2 separate regions of the Homo sapiens genome follow, and region 1 is linked to region 2. Evidence: promoter capture Hi-C in human tissues and cell types (Jung and others, 2019). All regions are on one chromosome and are shown on one strand. Each heading gives the region's core, a stretch centred on a gene start or on the middle of the fragment in contact. The rest is flanking DNA. Distances are from core to core; before and after follow the strand shown.

Region 1 (6,130 bases), core at 118-2,617, 140 kb after region 2:
AGACCTGGAAAACCTTAAAACATAAAAGTAAAATCATGACTCTGATACAGATATAAAAATGAGCACATGCTAAAGATTTTATTTAATTCAAGAGGAAACAGGCAGATATTATAACTGGTTCAAAAGAGAATCTGAGGGCTGGACATGGTGGCTCATGCCTGTAATCCCAGCACTTTGGGAGGCTGAGGCGGGTGGATCACTTGAGGTCAGGAGTTTAAGACCAGCCTGGCCAACATGGTGAAACCCCCATCTCTACTAAAAATTCAAAAATTAGTCGGGCTTGGTGGTGTGCACCTGTAATCCCAGTTACTTGGGAGGCTGAGGCAGGAGAATTCCTTGAACCAGTGAGCCAAGATCTCGCCACTGAACTCCAGCATGCACAGCAGAGTGAGACCCTGTCTCAAAATTAAAAAAAAAAAGAGAGAGAGAGAGAGAATCTGAGAAACAGACATATTTTCAGATCAGGAATATTGAAATGATTATGTAAATGGAGAAATGCAGTCAAAACTGCATTTTCTCTAGTGGGGATTGTGGGAAGTCAACCAACTTCCACCAGACAGAACATAACTTGCATCGATTACCTACAGTTTTCAAAGAGGTGTAAAATACCTCAAAGATAAGGAACAGGGTTGGAATCAAGTAACATGGCTTTCTAAATGTGCTTCGTTTTCCATTAAGACGCAAATTTCTTCTTCTGCTTGCCTCATCCTCTTCAGGAAGTAGAGTTCTGGCTAATTTTTTTCTTCTTTCAATTCTGTACATATTCTCTGAGTTTTCTAGCTATCACTAATTCAAAGTGATTTGGAAAAGCTGGAATTCTTTTTCTCCTTGTTGGGGCGAGGATGGTATCCTGTCCCAGGCTAATCCTCTATTATTTCATCCATGGGCTCTATTTACTGAAGTTTTCGTTAAATGTGTCATTGTGATCATAAGCTAGCATGATGCACCCTCTTGTTCCATTTGTCACGGTTGCACATGGACATTGATTTTAAGCCTTGAGCTCTCCGGTAAGGCAGGACTGGCCCAGGCATGGTCTACGAGATGCTACAGGAAGCAGAGACTTTCTAGACGTTCCCTTAAAGATAGTCAAGACATCCCCATGAAGACGTTCCCTTAAACTAAGGAGAAATTTGAGTCTGGGGTTCGGCGTTGCCAATTCTCTTAGCATAGAGCCTCTTAACCGCTAGACCAGATAGAGACATTTCAAATGGCTCCTAAATTTGGGGAGCGCGTAGGCTCATGGGAAATAGAGTCACGGTATTTGTCCTGGGACCGGCGGCGGGTCCCGGGAGGCGGACTTCCGGTGCATTCCTGCGCATGTGCACCCCTCTCTGTGTGCGTGTTCGCGCATGCGCGCCGCGGCCGCAGTGCCCTCGCTTCCTGTGCGTCCCCAGGTCACCGCTCGCCCTAGTTCCCAGGCTTTGGCCTCCGGTGGGCGAGAATCGCGGAGCCTGCGGGGCTGGGCGCCGAAGAGCCGGGCCGGCACCCAAGCGGGCGCGGGGCTGTGCGGGCCAGGCGGAGGCTCAAGCGGGGATCCCCGAGCACGACCCCCGGAGCCGACGGCGCTGGGGCCCAAGGGGCCGGCCGGGCGGTGACGACGGCGGAGGCGAAGGGGCGGCGGGACCCGGGCCCGGCCCGTGTGCGTCCTCGACGGCCCGGCCCCGGCTCCGCAGGACGGTGAGCCCCAGGGAGACGGATCTGGGCTCCGGGAGGGACGCCCCGCCTGGATTTGTCCCGTAGGCCCGGCCCGGGCCCCTCTGGAGCAGAACGGCCTTGGTGAGGTGGACAGGAAGGGACCTCGCGAGCAGACGCGCGCCCGCGACAGCAATCCCGCCCCGGCCTGTCGGGAGCGGTGGGGCAGAGGCTGCGGAGCCCCAGGAGGGTAAGTCGTGGGTTTGCGGGCCCGGGGCGAGAAGGGCCTGGGTGAAGTCACCGCGTGTAGGGCACCTTAGAGTGAGGGACAGTGGAAGGTCTCGATCGCTTGCAGGAGTGACGTGTGTTTGGGTTTGAAGGCAGGGTCCGGCGAGGACGAGGCTTACGGGGGCGTGGGGGGTGTCACCAGCCTCAGCTGCGGACGTTGTCTCCACTCCCCCCTCACCCCAGCAGCCCTTCCTCCTCTCTCTGCTCCAGATTGCTACCGTATCTAAACGTCCGTCAGCACCTCTGTTCTCTCATTTAAGTGCTGATTCCCCCTTAGGTCTGCTCTTGTGGAATCATACGTTGTAGTGCAGGAACAGCCTGCAGGAACTATCTCTTGCTGCCTCATTTGCTAGGGGAAGGGCCTTAGCAGGTGGGTGACTTGTCCGAGGTTTTGTGGGTGGAGTTGCTCATAGTAGAACTCTGGAGTTTTATCTCCCAGGCCAGTGTTCTGTCCCCCGTATCCTAGTTAAGTGAGCGTAAGTTCTTCAATAAAAGATCCTTTTGAGTAGCACACTGAAGTTTCTGCAAATAAAGACTCAATTATGCCGACTGTATTCCTTTATTTAGGGCATCCTGTGGATTTTCTGATCTTTATTTAAAAGAGTAAGAAAATAGATGAGTATTACAGAATTCATTTTTTGTTGTTTGTTTTTTGTTTGTTTGTTTGTTTGTTTTTGAGACAAGTTTCGCTTTGTTGCCCAGGCTGGAGTGCAATGGTGCCATCCCAGCTCACTGCAACCTCCGCCTCCCGGGTTCAAGCGATTCTCCTGCCTCAGCCTCCCGAGTAGCTGGGGTTACAGGCGCCCGCCACCACGCCCAGCTAATTTTTGTATTTTTACTAGACATGGGGTTTCACCATGTTGGCCAGGCTGGTCACCAGAATTCCTTTTTAAATCTTGCATTTAATGATGGCAGATTATTTCAGTAGGATCCAGTATTCATTCACCATGAGAATCTCATCCACTCAGTCACAAGGTAGCCATGTGTGAGTTTCAAATGTGCAGATCGGTCCCCCTCCTGATCATTTTCCAATCCCTTCTGAAGGCTTAAAGGGACAGTCTCCCACAAGATGTACTTCTTGGAACTTTCTGTGTAGGTTTTGGGCGGGAGATGACCGCCTTGGCAGGCCAGACCGCTCATAACGCCATGGCTTGGGTTTTCCTTCCCCAGATCTGCCTCCGCTTTCACAGTCCTCCAGATTTTTCCAAGAGCAGCAGAAAATGAATAAATCCCTGGTGAGTGTTTCTGTTCATGTATTTATTCTCTACTCTGATTTACAATACACCTTAGGAGGAGATTAAGGGTTCAAAGTTTAAAATGGGAAAGTAGAAATAGATACAAGATTTGGTCAGACAGAACAGTAGCCATCAGCACCAAGCCTTTTTATCATATTCATATGCGCAGATAGCGTGATCCTTAAAGAGTTCTTGAAGTCAGAGTACAAGCGTCTTATGTTCTTGGCATTTATCACAAAAAATGATAAATACCATCCATTCCTTGACTTACATTGACCGTAAGCAGAATCACTTTTGTTTTTGCATGAATTTTAAAGATTCCTCTGAGATCATTATCAACAGCTTTCCTAAATAATAACCCTTGAACCATTGCAATTCTTGCCTTTCTTTTTTTTTTTTTTTTTTTTTTTTTTTTTTTGAGACCAAGTATTGCGCTCTGTCACCAGGCTGGAGTGCAGTGGCGCTATCTCAGCTCAGTGCAACCTCCACCTCCCAGGTTCAAGTGATTCTCCTGCCTCAGCCTCTGGAGTAGCTGGGATTACAGGCATCTGCCACCACACCCGGCCTTTTTTTTTTTTTTTTTTTTTTTTAAAGTAGAGACAGGGTTTCACCATGTTGGCCAGGCTGCTCTCGAACTCCTGAGCTCAGGTGATCCACCCGCCTCGGCCTCCCAAAGTGCTGAGCTTACAGGCATGAGCCACTGCGCCCAGCCCATAATATTTCTAGTAACTAAAACATTGTTGTCTCAAAGGTAGATTCTTTTTACTGCTCTATCCGTTGCAGAAATGGCCTTCTCACCCTTAAATTAGTCTCCCTAAATATTTTCTTTTCTTTTTTTTTTTTAAAGATGGAGTCTCACTCTGTTGCCCAGGCTGGAGTGCAGTGGCGCTATCCCTGATTCAAGCGATTCTCCTGCCTTAGCCTCCCGAGTAGCTGCGATTACAGGCACCTGCCACCACACCCAGCTCATTTTTGTATTTTTTTAGTAGAGACGGGGTTTCAGAAGCACTTGGGCCAAGCTGGTCTCGAACTCCTGACCTCAAGTGCCAAGTGATTTGCCCACCTTGACCTCCCAAAGTGCTGGGATTATAGGTGTGAGCCACCATGCCAAGCCGCCTCCCTAAATATTTCTCTTAGTTTATCTGGGTTGCACAGCAGAAAGGACCATAATAAATCTCTGGCATAGATGCCCATTTTATCCCATAGCCTGTGGTCTTGGTCCTGTCCCTACCACTCCCCTGACCTTGTTGGAAAAGGTTGCCAATAATCCAGCACATGCTCTTAGTGGACATTTGCATCTTTGCCTTGGCCCACTCTGCAGTTTGCTCTGTCAGTTTGAGTGCCCTTTCTCTTCTTGCCTGCTTCCTGAAATTGATGATTTCTTTGGTCTTCATGTGTTGGTGTCCACTCTTGGCTCACGACTCTGTACCTATCTGATGTCACCCTCCTGTGCTTCTAACTACCAGCTCTGTGTTGGTTTTCCCACATAGAACTGTCCAGCCACCTGCTTAGCATTTCTTTGGAGTGTGTCCAAAGGACCCCTCAAGGTCATAGATGCAGCAGGTTCAGAATAATTATTTGGAGCCCCCCCACCTATGCCTTCTCTTGTTCCTATTGATTCATTGTTCCATCGTCCAGCCTGTAGCCCTATCGAGAAAGATGGGATTCTTTCTAAAGTTGTCCATTTTCTGACCTCGCGATTGTTTTGAGTTTGTACATGTCATATTCTAGATGGTTTTTATCCTGTCCCCTATCCCCTCCCTGCTGTTGTAAAAATAGCTTATTTTTTGGCCTCTCTACTGTTGTAGAGATTTTCTTTCTATACTGCTACTTTCCTCCACAAGCCCAGGCATATTGCATTTCCCATGTCGAGTATTTCTCCTGAAGTGTTCATCATATCGTGCTTCCCCCATGGGAAAAGCACTTGCGTGGCTCCCAGAGTGGCTACTACGAAAATGAGGTTGCCTGAAGCTGGGATGGGGAAGACTGTGGGTAAAGCAGGCTTGAGAAAAGGCCAGAATTAGGTTTCAGATGTTTAAAATTTGGGCTGTGTTGGTATGCAGTGAGTGGCAGCATCAGGAAGGCAGGTAGGGGTGTGTGTGTGTGTGTGTGTGTGTGTAGTTTGGGAGCTGTGTTAGCTGTGTTAGTATGCAATGAGTGGCAGCATCAAGAAGGCAGGTGTGTGTGTGTGTGTGTGTGTTTTGGGACACGAATCTGGTGTGTGTGTGTGTGTGGTTTGGGACACCACTCTAGGGGGTGTGTGTGTGTAGAGTTTGAGACACAACTCTGTTGTGTGTGTGTGTGTGTGGATTTTGAGATATATCTCTCTGGGTGTGTGTGTGTGTATTTTGACACACAAATCTGCTCGGTGTGTGTGTGTGTGTGTGTGTGTGTGTGTGTGTAGTTTGGGAGACACATCTCGTGTGTGTGTGTGTGTGTAGTTTGGGAGACACATCTCATATGTGTGTGTGTGTGTGTGTGTGTAGTTTGGGAGATATATCTCTGTGTGTGTGTGTAGTTTGGGAGACACATCTCGTGTGGGTGTGTGTGTGTGTAGTTTGGGAGACGCATCTCGTGTATGTGTGTGTGTGTAGTTTGGGAGACGCATCTCATGTGTGTGTGTGTGTGTGTGCAGTTTGGGAGATAAATCTGTGTGTGTGTGTGTGTGTGTGGAGTTTGGGAGACGAATCTGGTGCGTGTGGAGTTTGGGAGATGAATCTGGTGTGTGTGCGTGCGTGTAGTTTGGGAGACGAATCTGGTTGTGTGTGTGTGTGTGGAGTTTGGGAGATGAATCTGGTGTGTGTGCGTGTGTGTAGTTTGGGAGACGAATCTGGTGTGTGTGTGTGTGTGTGTGTTTGTGGAGTTTGGGAGACGAATCTGGTACTCTCCCATGTGCAGTCTGGTAGAGAAGGAGGAACTGGGAAGGTGCTACTGGTCAGGCTAGAGGGAGAACCAGGAGCGTGCAGTTTCTGAAG
Region 2 (5,462 bases), core at 2,663-5,162:
CCAGGATTCCCCACATAAAGCCCCTCTGAAGCTCAGCTCATGATCCAAAATTACAGAACGCAAAGGAAACACATCACCGCGAGAAAAGGCAACAGACATACAAAAGAGCAGGATTCGACACCCGCTCCAAATACCCCCAGCTAGGAGAGAGAAGCTGTCCAACAGGTATGTGAGATAGGCAGCTTCTATAAGGGCTGCCAGCGATCTCCCACCCTTGACTCTTCACAACTTTGTGTAATTTCCATCCCTTGATTGTGGGCTGGACCTAGTGAGTTTCTTTTAACCAACTGAATTCTTATTTTACTTATTTTATTTTATTTTATTTTATTTTATTTTATTTTATTTTATTTTATTTTATTTTACTTAGAGATAGAGTTGCACTGTGTTGTCCATGCTAGGCTGAAACTCCTGGCCTTAAGCAGTCTTCCTGCCTCGGCCTCCCAAAGTGCCAGGATTATAAGCATGAGCCACTGCGCTCGGCAGCCTTCGCATTTATTTATTTTTGAGACTCGCTGTATCGCCCAGGCTGGAGTGCAATGGCACGATCTCGGCTCACTGCAACCTCCACCTCCCGGGTTCAAGCGATTCTCCTGCCTCAGGCTTCCAAGTAGCTGAGATTACAGGCGCCCACCACCAAGCCTGGCTAATTTTTGTATTTTTAGTAGAGACTGGGTTTCACCATATTGGCCAGGCTGGTCTCGAACTCCTGGCCTCAGGTGATCTGCCCGCCTCAGCCTCCCAAAGTGCTGGGAGTACAGGCGTGAGCCACTGAACCTCGCTAACCAACTGAATGCTAAACTGGCCTGAGAGATTCTCACTCCCTGGTGTCCACACCCCGCTAATGCCCTCCTGTGAGTGAATGTGATGGGCTACAGTACTTTTGAGCTAATCAAGTGGGACGCTACCTAATGGACCTGAACCAGTCAGGCAAGTCTTTTAAAAGAAAGGGACATGGCAGAGAGGTGCTCTTCTGCAGGCTTGGAGTAGGGCAAGTGGCCATGGTGCCACCTACAAGGAGGCCCCTGGAAGCCGAGAGTGGTCCCCGATGGCAGCTTGCAAGAAAACAGGGACCTCAGTGCCCCAATGTAGGGAACAGCCCCTCTCCCCCTCGGCTCTTAGGACCCCCATCGCAGGGGGGTGAGGTGCCCACCGCGATGCGGGGAGTAAGGGCCAGCCCCTCTTCCCCCCTCCTGGTTTTTAGGATCCGCGGTGGACTCACAGCCTGTTTACCATATTGTGAGCAATATCATCTCCCCCTCTGGAGATTATGAACTGTTTCAGAGACGGGTGTACACCCTCGGTGTGCAGAGGGTGTACACCCATCTGTATTGGGAGTAATATCATCCTCTTCCTCCCTGAATATTAAGAAGAGTATCACAGGGGTGTTTCCACTCCCTCGGATATCGCGTGTCATATCCTCCTCTCCCACGTTGCAATTAGAAACAATATCAGTGGGGGCGTGTCCACCTTCTGTGATATTGAAAGTAATATCATCCTCTTCCCTCCAGGATCATGGGAACAATATCCCTGGGGGGTGTCCACTTTCTGCCATATATGTAGTCATATCACCCCCTCCGCCTTAGAATATTATGAAGGACCATCTCACATGGGGGTGTATACTTCCTGCGATATTGGGAGTAATATCAACCTCTCGGTCTCCGAATATTAGGAAGAATATCACAGGGTGGGTGTACACCTCCTGCTCTATTATGGGGAGTCATATCTATCTATTATGGGGAGTAATATCATCCTCTCCCTTTCAGGATATTAATAACAATTTCACAGGCTGGGTGAACACAGCCTGCGATGCTGGAATTATTATCACCCTCTCCCCCTCGGGATACTAGGAAGAACATCACAGAAGAGGTGTACACTCCCTGCGATATTGGGAGTAATATCATACGCTTCTTCCGTGAATATTAGGAGCGATATCACCGGGTGGCTGTACATTGATTACTGTGTTGGCAGTCATGTCATACTCTACCCTCTGGGTATTAGGATCGGTGTCACAGGGTGAGTGTACACCTACTGCGATATGAAAACTAATATCATGCTCTCCATCCCTGGATATTAGGAACAATATCACAGGTAGGTGTACACCCCCTGTGGTATTAGCAGTAATAATATTCTGAATTATTAAACATCAGTCTTATTAATAATTATCAATGGTAATATTAATTAACAGTATAACGTTATTAATCATTAATGATTATTTTCAAGATATGATTATGCATGATTAAAATTAATTATTAAGATTAATGTCACTTTTAATATTAGTTATTAATCTTAATATTAATTATTGTTTTATTACCAACATCACTTATGATTGATTGAAGTAACATTAATTAGTGATATCATTATTTTATTATTAATAGTGATATTGCTATTAATTATTAATAGTAACCGTTAATATTTTTCATCTGTACTGTTTTACTGTCTCTACTGTAATTATTAATATTGATGATTACTATTAATTGTTATTATATTTATTAATATTAATAATTAATAGAACTGTTCCCGATATCCGTGGGGGAGAGGATATGACTCCCTATATCGCAGAAAGTGTACACCCCTCTATGATGTTACTCCTAATAGCCGGGGGGTAGAGGATGACATTATTGAAAATAGCGCAGTGGGTGTACATCCCTTCGGTCATCTTGTTCCTAATATCCTGGGTGGGAGCGGATATGACTCCCAATATCGCAGGGGGTGGAGACCTCCACCGAGATACTGTCCCTAACATCCAAAGGTGGAGATGATGATATTTCTTCCAATTTCACCGGGGGTGCACACCATCCTTGTGATATTGATCCTAATATCCAGGCGGCGAGAGGATGCTATTAGTCTGAATATTGCAGAATGTGTACACTCCCTAGGGATATTGTTCCTAATATAAAGGGACGGAGAGGATGATATCACTCCCAATATAGCCGGGGGTGTACACCCCTTGTGTAACATTGCTCCTAAAGGGCAGCGGGGGAGAGGAAGATATTACAGCCAATATCGCAGGGAGTGTACACCCCCTTGTGACATTGTTCCTTCTATCCTGGGAGGGAGAGGAAGATACTAGCGGCAATGTCGCAGGGGCTGTACACACCCACTGTGATATTGTTCCGAATATCCGGAGGGGGAGAAAATGTTGTTACTTCCAATATCGCAGGGGGTGTACATCCTCCTGTGATACTGTTTCTTATATTCATGCGGAGAGGATGACATTACTCCCAATATCGCAGGGGTTGTACCCACCTCCTGCGATACGGGGAGTAAGAGCCAGCCCCTCTCTCCCCCTGGCTCTTAGGAGCCCCTTTGCAGGGGGGTAAGGCCCCACCCTGGGGTACGGGGAGTAAGAGCCAGCCCCTATCACCCCCTGGCTCTTAGGACCCCCATCGCAAGGGGATGAGGCCCCCGCGATGCGGGCAGTCATATCACCCCCCTCTAGATATGATGATTCACGTCGCAGGGGGGCGGGCGCCCCCCGCGATGCGGGGAGTCATATCAGCACCCCCTCTCCCCCCCTGGATATGACGATCCACGGTGGTCACACAGCGTGTTCACGTTATTGTCAGTAATATCTTCTCCACCTCTGGAAATTACCAACTATATCACAGACGGGTGCACATCCTCTGCGCTCTTTGGAGTAATAGCATCCTCTTTCCCCTTGATATTAAGAACAATATCACAGGAGTGTTTTTATCCCTAGGGGCATTCCGTGTAGTATCATCCTCTCCCACGTTGAAATTAGGAACAATATCACCGGAGCGTGTCCACCCCGTGCGATATTGAAAGTAACATCATCCTCTTCTCTCCTGGATCATGGGAACCATATCACTGGGGTTGTGTACACTTTCTGCGGTATTGGGAGTAAGATCATCCTCTCCGCCTTGGAATATTAAGGATCATATCACGGTGGGGCTGTACACACCCTGTGCTATGAAGAAGAGTATTATCCTCCCCTGCCCTGCACATTGGAAAAAATATCACAGAGTGGGTGTACACCTCCTGCGATGAGGGGGTGATATCATCTTCTCTTCTTCTGTATAATAGCAACAATAGTACACGGGCTTGTACACTTTCTGTGATATTGGGAGTAATATCAACCTCTCCACCTTTGAATATTAAGAACAATATCACAGACTGGATGTACACCCCCTGCGATATTGGGAGTCATATCAGCCTCTCCTTTCCGTGGATATTAGGAATAATATCCCAGGATGGGTGTACACCTCCTGCTGTATGGGGAGTCATATCGTCCTCTCACTTCCTGGCTGCTAGGAACAATATCAGAGGGTGGGTGCACACAGCCTGCGATATTGCGAGTAATATCACCCTCTCCCCCTCCGGATATTAGGAACAATGTCACAGAAGGGGTGTACACTTCCTGAGATACTGGGAGTAATAGCATTCTCTTCTTCCGGGAATATTAGGAGGAATATCACCGGGTGGATGCACACCCACTGCTATCTTGGGAGTAACGTCATACGCCACCCCCTGGAGATGATATTCGGATCAATATCACCGGGTGGGTGTACACCTACTGCGATATTGAACGTCATATCATGCTCTCTCCCTCCCTGGACATTAGGAACAACATCACAGGTGGGTGTACACCCACTGAGGTATTAGGGATAATATTCATATTAATTCTTCCTCTTTTATTAACATGAATATGTATTACCAATATTAATATTAATATTAAGAAATCATTGTTAAAAATAGTGTTCAGATTATTAATATTAATGTTAATTATTAGGAGCTAATATGACAGTTTTCTAATGAATAAGATCAATATCACTCTTTAAGACCATGCATCATTAATCATTAATATTCATTTATTGTTATCGTGAGTATAACTCTTTAATACGAATTATCATTATCGGTATTGATTTTCAGAATTATATGATCAGTTATTAATATTGATAATTATCAGTATCAATTAATAATTAAGATTATTAATTGCGGTAAGTAACATTGCGCCATTCCACCCCTCCCTCGGCAGCTCTTTTACGACCCAAAACGGGGATCCAAATGCCCCTGAGAGAGCAGCGGCATACTGGGAGAGAGGAGGATGGTCACGTGGTGGAGAGGCGTGTTTTTGTGTACCAGCCCTTCACCTCTGCCGACCTTCTCAACTGGGAAAACAATACCCCGTCCTAGAGCGAAAAGCCACAAGCCCTAATTGATTTCCTCCAAACGGTTATCCAGACCCACAACCCCACCTGGGCCGATCGCCACCGGTTGCTCATGTTCCTCTTTAAGAGAGATGAAAGGCAAAAGGCGGAGAGGGCTTCACGCAGCAACTAAGTGGCTAGAGGAACATGCACCAGCTGATTATCAAAACCCCCAAGAGTATGGAAGCACCCAGTTACCAGGAACCCACCCCCAGTTGGACCCACATGAAAGAGAGGAGATGCAAAGGCTAAACCGAGACAGGGAAGCTCTCTTGGAAGGATTCAAGAGGGGAG

What was found. The method cuts DNA at HindIII sites, captures the fragments that hold promoters and counts their contacts. A contact is called where the count stands out against the background at its distance.
Region 1: the fragment with the promoter of ZNF12 here is called in contact with a fragment that was not itself captured in region 2 in 1 of the 25 tissues and cell types used here (neural progenitor cells).

Annotation. Positions count from the first base shown.
Region 1 is chr7:6,702,184-6,708,313 of GRCh38, reverse strand. It overlaps ZNF12 (zinc finger protein 12), which reads left to right and starts at 1,367. Exons shown (of 5, transcript NM_016265.4): 1 at 1,367-1,882; 2 at 3,091-3,155. The coding sequence starts at 3,141. RefSeq lists an enhancer at 1,199-1,698 and a silencer at 1,392-1,751. The HindIII fragment of the contact is 19,528 bases long and covers 1-6,130 here.
Region 2 is chr7:6,845,973-6,851,434 of GRCh38, reverse strand. No RefSeq gene overlaps it. Among named protein-coding and RNA genes, the nearest start is that of CCZ1B, 22 kb to the right of the region's middle. The HindIII fragment of the contact is 8,245 bases long and covers 1-5,462 here.